Linked DNA regions of Homo sapiens: regions 1 and 3 are each linked to region 2. Evidence: promoter capture Hi-C in 16 types of primary human blood cells and fetal thymus (Javierre and others, 2016). All regions are on one chromosome and are shown on one strand. Each heading gives the region's core, a stretch centred on a gene start or on the middle of the fragment in contact. The rest is flanking DNA. Distances are from core to core; before and after follow the strand shown.

Evidence for each region. Contacts are between HindIII fragments. The CHiCAGO score rates a contact against its expected background, and 5 or more counts as called.
Region 1: a contact is called between a fragment that was not itself captured here and the fragment with the promoter of ATP6V1B2 in region 2, in 1 of 17 cell types (monocytes). The highest score is 5.9, in monocytes.
Region 3: a fragment that was not itself captured here is called in contact with the fragment with the promoter of ATP6V1B2 in region 2 in 2 of 17 cell types (M1 macrophages and monocytes); the score reaches 6.8 in M1 macrophages.

What each region holds. Positions count from the first base shown.
Region 1 is chr8:19,873,527-19,876,542 of GRCh38, reverse strand. No RefSeq gene overlaps it. Among named protein-coding and RNA genes, the nearest start is that of INTS10, 58 kb to the right of the region's middle. The HindIII fragment of the contact is 380 bases long and covers 1,475-1,854 here.
Region 2 is chr8:20,195,946-20,199,007 of GRCh38, reverse strand. It overlaps ATP6V1B2 (ATPase H+ transporting V1 subunit B2), which reads right to left and starts at 1,627. Exons shown (of 14, transcript NM_001693.4): 1 at 1,466-1,627. The coding sequence starts at 1,601. RefSeq lists a silencer at 1,574-1,853. The HindIII fragment of the contact is 6,568 bases long and covers 1-3,062 here.
Region 3 is chr8:19,840,346-19,843,354 of GRCh38, reverse strand. INTS10 (integrator complex subunit 10) reads right to left here. Exons shown (of 17, transcript NM_018142.4): 14 at 428-507. Among named protein-coding and RNA genes, the nearest start is that of INTS10, 24 kb to the right of the region's middle. The HindIII fragment of the contact is 1,905 bases long and covers 425-2,329 here.

The sequences.
Region 1 (3,016 bases), core at 415-2,914, 320 kb after region 2:
CAGTCAATCCCAGTCAGACCTCTGACCTACAGAACAGGTAATGCATCTGATACAGGTAATAAATAGGTGGTAATCTGTAATGCAGCAATAAAACTCTGATACTGGAGGTGATCTCAGGAAGCAGGAGTAAGGGAGTGGAGAGTGAAGAGGGAAAGAGGAAAGCTAATATAAGTATGCCTGATGGGAGGTTGTGGTTGGGAGCAATGAGAGCTTGATGATCCTGTGATCTCCTAAGAAGCATGCAGAATGCCATCCAGAATTATCCATCGAAAGCCGTGAGATGACAGCATCTACCTGCTGGCTCCACCCAGCTCAGACCCCCACCCCTACTTAGGTTAGGGGGACTTAATTACCGGCACTCAAAAGCTATCCTTGCAGCACAGTGTGGAAGTATCCAGAGTGGAGCAGGGGAAAAATGCAGAAAGATTTTTTTTTTCTAGCTGAAGGCTGGACATACAAAATCAGTCTGAGTTTGCACAGAATGTTCTAGAAAGCTGTAGTTGAAAATAGAATTAGGTGAAAGTCTAATGAATAGACTGGTTAAAATAAAATAGCAATAAAAATAAATAAGAAATAAAAATTCTAAAGAGTCAGGTCTGAGCCTCAGAGAGGAGAGGGGTCTCACTGAAAGGAGGCAAGTATGTGGACGTCAGGGTCAGAGTGGCCACTCCAGCCCCGAGATGACAGTGCAGCCTCTCTCCACTGCCCCTGGAGCTTCAGCCTTGTAGGAAACACTGTGTTAAACCAATGAACTCAAGGTGGGAATGCAAATTAGTTCAGCCACTGTGGAAAGCAATTTGGCAATTTCTCAAAGAATGTGAAACAGAATTACCATTTGACCCAGCAAGCAATCCCATTACTGGCTGTATACCCAAAGGAATGTAAATCGTTCTACCATAAACACACAGGCATGCATATGTTCATTGCAGCACTATTCACAATGGCAAAGACATGGAATCAACCTAGATGCCCATCAATGGCGGACTGGATTAAGGCAATGTAGTACTTATACACCATGGAATAATACACAGCCATAAAAAAAGAATGAGGTCATGTTTTTTGCAGCAACATGGATGGAGCTGGGGGCAATTATCCTAAGCAAACTAACACCGGAACAAAAAAACAAATACCACATGTTCTCACTTATAAGTGGGAGCTAAACATTCAGTACATATGGACACAAATAAGAGAACAACAGACACCGGGGCCTACGTGAGGGTGAAAGGTGGGAGATGGTGAGGATTGAAAAGCTACCTATCAGGCACTATGCTTATTACCTGGGTGGCGAAATAAGCTGTACACCCAAAATGTTCCACCCACCTTTTGGGCCACATTATTCTATGTATTATACCAAACTAGAATACAAGGCTGTTTCTACCCTCTAAGTTCATTTCACACTTAAACATATAGTGCTTTCAACTAGAAATAGATTTCAGGGTTATGGTGTACTAGCAAACCAAAATCATACAAAGCTTAGCATTGTTCACAAAGAATTAAATACCAGGATAGCTGGGGAAAGGTGATATTGGGCTGATTACCTGTATTTTCAAGTTTGCGAACTCTCCACAATTCATTTTGAGTAATCTAGAAACTTGTTAGCTTTTCCTCACTTGTGGCATATCTCTCTGGCTTCTGAAGTTGGAAGGGAATAGGAAAAGAATGGACAAAACAATCTGATCCCCAAATTTCTTGCTGACAAGTCTAGCTTCTTGTTCCAGGTCAGTCATCCTAATCTACACCTATTTTTAAAGCAGTAAGTCTGTTACTTCTCTTAATACTAAGCATTTAGACATCTTATCTTGAGTAATTGAACTTACATAGCAACTAAGACTTAATAAAGTCTCTGATAAAGCTTTATCTTTGTACCCTAAAGTGAGGTTGGTAAGCTTTTCTGAGCATCTTATCTTAAATTTGATTTCAATTTCAGTTTCAGCAATTTAGACTTGGTTTTTTAGGTGCTCCAATTACTCTTAAAATAATCTATTCACCATGCTGGGCTAGCATTCTCATTATATTTGAGCTTCATTCTAAGTACCTGGATTTATAACAAAGGAAAACAAGAAAGTGATAGTTCACTTCACAAAAGGTTGAACAAAGACAGCTTAAAATAGAGTTCCATTAAAATGACTTCAAACATTCTGCAACAAAGAACTTCCTGCAATACATCTAAAGGAGTATATTTTATTAATTCAAAGGCATACTTTTTTTAAATGTTTTGGCAACTATGAAATTGGGATGTATCTTACATTGCTGTTGGCCAGAGAGCATTTGTAATGTACAGATCTTTGCCTGTGTATGCACAAACATAAAAAATGCCAGCATCAAAACTTGTGGAGTGACTAAGTCTGACACAGCCTGATTTCTCCCTCTTTCACCACTGCCCTCCCCTTTTGAGAGCTCGCTCCAGATATAGGGGCCTGACTGAGGGTCTAGGTTTGGTTGTGCATCTTTGTACCATCAATTCAGTATGCTTGGAATGCATCTTCCTCCAATATCATTATAATCATCATTCTTATTCCAGTTGTGAAACCTGAAAATTTGAGACCGGTCTCAGTTAATTTAGAAAGTTTCTCTTGCCAAGGCTGAGGACACACACACACCCATGACGCAGCCTCAGGAAGTCCTGACAACATGTACCCAAGGTGATCGGGGCACAGTTTGGTTTCACACATTTTAGCAAGACATGAAACATCAGTCAATATAAGTAAGAAGTACGTTGGTTCCATCCAGAAAGGCGGGGACAACTTGAAGCAGGGAAGGGACTTCCAGATCACCGGTAGGTTGCATTCTTTGAGTTTCTGAGAAGCCTTTCCAGATCAGCATATGCATCTGTCTCAGTGAGCAGAGTGACTTTGAATAGAAATGGGGGGCAGACTTGCCTTGAGCAGTTCCCAGCTTGAATTTTCCTGTTAGCTTAGTGATTTTGGGGGCCCAAGATATTCTCCTCTCACACAATCTCAGCCTAAAATGTCTACTTAAACACATAAAGTAGCTGTCCAGTCTAGTCATTACATAT
Region 2 (3,062 bases), core at 378-2,877:
TCTATCTGTTCTACCCAAAGAAAGGCAATGCATACAAACGCAATTAATAAAAGAGAATTTGTAATTCGTAGGTATAAATTTATTGCCAAGGTTTGCATAAGAATGCAACATCTGCCGATTTCCTGAAGTAGCTACTTCAGCTCAGATAAGTCCCAACATACATTTTCTAATTCGAACAATTCCCAGTTACTGTAAAAGGCACATCTCAGCAATCCACCGAATCAAATGTTTTCCTTTTTCTTCACACTGCAGTGCTATCACATGACCCAGTGACAGATCAGGATGTGGATTAGTCAGGCTTCAGATCGCCCAGACTAACACCCTTCATCTGAAATCCTTTTTAATCAGTCGGCCACCTAGAGACAGACACTCTGGCAATTAACCAGTGAAAATGCAGTCTCACCACCTGGGGAAACATCATGTGCTTTTCCCAGTTTTTTAAAAAGTCTATTTCGAGGGCTCATTGCCAGTTCCGAAGAAAGCTGTGAAGAAGTTGGATGCTACACAACTGCATTCTCTAGTAATCAAGAACCATTTCTTTTGGAATTGCTGAGCTATCCACTTAAACCTAGTTCATTAAGGCCTTTTTATTTAAAAAATCACAACATTTAAACAAGCCTATGCACACACACCACCTATGGGCAAAGCCACCTGGCTTCCCCAAAGAACCCTGCACTCAACCAAGTTTGGTTAACTGGTCAGTAAATGAAGAGGCAACGGTAGAAAAAGGCCCAGCGAGAATTTAAGAACCTGGATTTTTAGTCCCTGCTCTGCCAATAATTAAGTGTCTGAAGCATGGCAAATCCTACCCCTTCCAGAACCTTAGGCTTCTCACCTGTAAAATGATAGGGTTGGACTGGATGACCTGCAAGGTACTTTTCAGCTCTAGCGTTCTCTGATATCTAGGTGTCCTTCTGCGGAGCAGCCCCTCCACCAAACACCAAGCCACATCTCCCTCTGGCTACTGGCCTGACCTCCATCCACGAAAGGCCTGACCACGTCAGCGAAGGCTCTACCGTCTGCCCTCCGCAGGAGTTGAAGACCCCATTGAGGTCCTCACCAGGGGGAGGGGAGAAGGGGCGTTCCCTCGACCCCTAGATATCCAAATGAAGTCAGGGGAAGATTAAGATCGGAGTGGCAAGAAGTGGCCCTCGGGGACGGGAAGCAAGTGCCTAAGAAGGCTCCAGCCTAGGGAAGCTGGGGAGGGGAGGGGGTAGGGCAACAGCCAGGAGCCCACCAACCCCAGGAAAAAGTTCCCGCTGGTGCTCTTGCCCTCAGCCCATCTCCTGGAAATATTAGGTACAGGCAAATCTCCTTCTAAAGAGACAAGTGGGTCAGGGTCGGAGGGGAGACGCGGGAGGGAAAAACAAATCCTACCCCCTACCCGCTGGCTAAGCAGGTGACTGGGAGCAAAGGGCTAGGCTAGGGAGCAAAGACCGGAGACGTATTACTCTCTGATACTCACTGAGGCGAGGCTGGGAGAGGTAGTTCCGACTGACTGCCAGCGCCTGCTCCCGAGCTCCCACCGCCGGCCCACCGGTGGGCACGGGTAGCTCGGGTGCGGCCCCGTTGACAATCCCCCGCATCGCCCGCAGCGCCATCTTGTCTCCTCTGTCCCGACTGGCCCAGCAGCGACGCCGCGCACGCGCAGATATACCAAGGCGGCCCGCGGCCCGAGGCTCCGCCTATGCGCGCTGCGGCGCCCCGGCCTCGCCCCGCCCCCTTCGCCGCCGGCCGCCCCCAGCCTCGTGACTTCGCGCCGCTGGGGCCAGACCTGCTTGCGAGCAAGAGGAGCTGACCAGCGTGCTGGGAGGCGCGCGCGGGCGCAGAGGGAAGGGAAGCGAAAGAGGGGAGATGGAAGGAGAGAGGAAAGCCAGCCGAAAGAGAGGCGCACAAGCGGAGTGAGGGGAGGAAGGCAAACGCGTGCAGGCCAACGTCAGCTGATATCCATTTCGAATGGGCTTTCGTGACGCTGAATGGAGAGAACTCAAGCTGTGAAAACCGCTTTGAAAAACAGAAGCAATGGAAAACATGTTTCAGTGATTATTAACACATGTGGCATCATTTAGTTCACTTTACTCCCTACCCAATTCGTTCACGCATGTATCCATTCGACAAACATATATTGGCTTGTTATAGGATGTGCGTAGCGGTGTGAAAAATAGGGGCAGATTTGGAAGCTGTGTAAGGGGTGGGACTAGTGTAGGATGACAGCCCAGGCTGGAGGCCGGAGCAATGGAATGGATTCTTCTTCTTCTTCTTCTTCTTCTTTTGAGAGGGAGTCTCATTCTGTCGCCCAGACTGGAGTGCAGTGGCGTAATCACGGCTTACTGCAACTTCCGCCTCCCGGGTTCAAGCGATTCTCCTGCTTCAGCCTCCTAAGTAGCTGGGATTACAGGTGCCCACCGCCACGCCCGGCTAATTTTTGTTTTTAGTAGAGACGAGGTTCTACCATGTTGGCCAGGCTGGTCGCGAACTCCTGACATCAATTGATCCCGCCGTCTTGGCATCCCAAAATGTTGGGATTACAGGCGTTAGCCACTGCACCCAGAAGATTATAATTTTTAAGTTTAACTAATGTCCAAAGTTGGCACGTGTAAAATTAAACAGGAATTGTAATACTTTACTGATAAGAGCACAATTGGTATGATATTTAGAAGAACAATTTGGTGATATCTCATTCAAATATTTTGGTACTAGGAACTTATCGTTCTCTCTCTCTGTAGATATATCTGTATCTATCTATCCACTCAGTGTATGTGACAAATATTTTCCATTATATATAATACATTACGTCATGCACCATATGGTATATATTATTATATATGGTCTACAGACATATACATGTATATATACATACACACAGATATTCAAAAAAAATTTTTGTAATAGCATAAACCTAGAAACAATCTAAATGCCCATTCATAAGTTATAGCCTATTAAGTCAAAGGTATTTCTCAAACTTTTGAAAAGAATTCAGTGGAGGCTCAAGGGTTGAGTTTTTTTTTTTAAAAAAAGTCCAAGACACATTATTAGGTTTAAAATAAAAAAGCAATTGCAAA
Region 3 (3,009 bases), core at 128-2,627, 360 kb after region 2:
TCCCAACTGTTGGGCTGTTACTGGTGTTGATCTCAACACCTAACATGCTTAATCTAGCACATCTTTACAATGACAAACTCATCATCCCTCCATGAACCTAACCGCAATTTGTATTCCCTTTCTTTGTAGCTAATATATTTATATTGATAAAATATTTACCAAACACTACAACAGTCAAGGTTATTTGCATATCTGTCCCACTATTACACTTTTTGAGGACGGGGAGAACTTCCTACTTCTCTTTGCCTAGCGCAGTCATTATTTAATATAGATTTGTTAATTAGTAGCCCATGTGCTTTTCTAACTGTTTGGGCCTGCCCTCAAAAGTACTAAAATAACAATCCTTAGCAAGGTTCTCAAGTTCTCGAGTCATGAGAATAATATTTGAAATTACATTTTTTTTCAAGCTAATCAACTTTAAGCTTACCTTAAAACAGGCTAACATTAAATGGAGGCAGTATGGCATGATAGCCTTGCTGGTACAAGGCAGGAGCTTCAGATCCGAACCTAACAGAAGTCCACAATGTTAGGTTAATGTATGTTATTATCAAAGATAACAGCTTTGAAAGGCAACTGTTTAAGATGCTTTCATTAACAACAACAAAAAAGAGAATATGCAACAGTCACACAATTTCAATTATATTTGAAACACAATTATACTTTGTGATGGTGAAATTGGCTTTTGATGGTCTCTAGATTTCATTTATCAATATTCTTTCCTAAACTTGCTTAAATACTTTTTATGAGAAAACATTTCAAATATACACAAAGTTATATAGAGAGAATATAACACTGGTGTGCTCACCACTCAGCTTCATGAAATGTTAATATCTTAATTTTAAACATTTCTAATATCAATAATCACAAAATCAGTTAAAGCCTATTGTGTATCCTTCTCTGATCCCATTCTCTTCCATCGCAGAGGTCGCCATAATTCTGAAGGCAGTGGTTGTCATTCCTATGACTGTTACACACGTAAACAACAATGGATTGTTCTGCATGCTTTCAGTCTACTATATAAATGGTGTCATTTTGTATGTATCCTTCTGCAAATTGCTTTTTTTACTCAACTTCATGTGGTTCAGATTTATCAACTGGTCAATATCAATACACATAGCTCTAGTTCATTCATTTTCAGTGTTATATAGTATTCTGTTGTCTGCATTCCTTTTACAGAGGATATTGACATTTCCAATTTTTCACTATTACAATGATAAATATACATTCTTACATATTCTTGTACATTTGTGGAAATAACTTTAAGCAATAGCTTTCAAAGCAAAATCCCAATCTTTCCTTTCTGGTCTGTGTTCTTTATGTCTGTTATCTTTCTCTACTCAGAGGCAAGATAGCAAGAAATAAATATTTTTCACATGGGATCCTGTACACACATACTTACATAATGTGATAGATCCAAAACAAAAGGTGCATGGAATAACAGTCTCTCTTCTTGTCTGAGATGTCGTCTTAAAATATTATTGAATTCTATCTCATTAAAAAAGAAAATTTCTGGTTGAAACTCATGACCCTGTAAATGAAAACTCACAGCTTGAAAAACACTCATCTAAGGTATACAACTAGGACGCGAGGTACATTTAATAATTAGGTAATGACATGTTCAACTTGGTCATGGGAAGTTGGTTTCCAGAATGGTTGCATGACTTTATACACCTTCCAGAAGCACGTGGCACTGTGTTCCTTCACATCCTCTTCAATTTTTGCATTCTGATGTGTGTGAAATGGTAGTTTATTGTTTTATTCTGAATTGCCCATATGACAAAAGGTTGAGAATCTTTCCAAATAGTTTTTGGCCATTTGGATTTCTGCTCCTGTGAATCTGTTCTTCCTGTCCTTTGCCTATTTTTCTATGGGGATTGGATAATTGCTTCCTATTGGTCTGAAGGAGCTCTTTCAAAACTCTAGATACTAAGTTTTTGTTGATTTTGTGTGATAGACAATTTTCTGGCAGCCTATGCCTTATCTTTTCACTTTGATTGTAACAGCCTTTGTTGGTATTTTAATTTTAATGTGATCAAATTTACTAATCTTTCTATTTTTAAATTTTCTTCTAAAAGTTTGGAAGTTTTGGAGTTTTTGCTGTCACATTTCAACCTTAAAATTTAAAGGATGTCTATGTAGTGTGAAGGAGGGGATCTCATTTTTTTATTGTCGTTTTTTACATTTGGATAATAAATTGTTCTAGTACCACTTATTGAATAAATTCATTCTTCCCCCACTGAATTTTAATGTCATCTATTTCTCAGTTTTCTATGCTGTTCCACTGGTCAACCCCTGTGCCAATACTACCCTGTCTTAAATTACTAAAGCTTTAAAATAAGTCTTGAAGTCAGCTAGGTCAGTCCTATCCACCTAATCAGTTTCTGGAAGGTATATAAAGTCATGCAGCCACTCTGGAAACTAACTTAGCATTACCAAGTTGAACATGTCATTACCTAATTATATGCCTTGCCTCCTAGTTGTACACCTTAGATTAGTGTTTCTCAAGCTGTGAGTCTTCATCTACAGGGTCATGAGTTTCAACCAGAAACTTTCTGTTCTGCAGAAATACTTAATTTTTGAAGAAGTCTGGGCTAGATTTTTTTTTTTGACCATTTGTTATAGAAAACTTCAAACATATACAACGTAATCTGCTCCAGCACCATTGGTTGAAAAGTCTTTCCTTTCCTTATTGAATTACTTTGATGCCTTCATCGAAAATCATTTGATCAAATCTATGCAGGTCTATTTCTGGATTCTCCATTCTTATGTCGATATTTTGTCAACTCTGTCTTGATTATTATGCTTGTATATTAAGTCTTGTTATTATGTAGTATAAGTCACTTAATTGTGTCTTTTTAAAACCTGTTTTGACTATTCTAGATTATGTAATATTTCCACTTACATTTTAGAATCACTTTGTGAACTTCTAGCAAAAAACCACCAAAAACCGTAAAGTCTGCTGTAATTTTGCTTGAAATTGCATTGAATCTACAGATACACGTGGGGAGA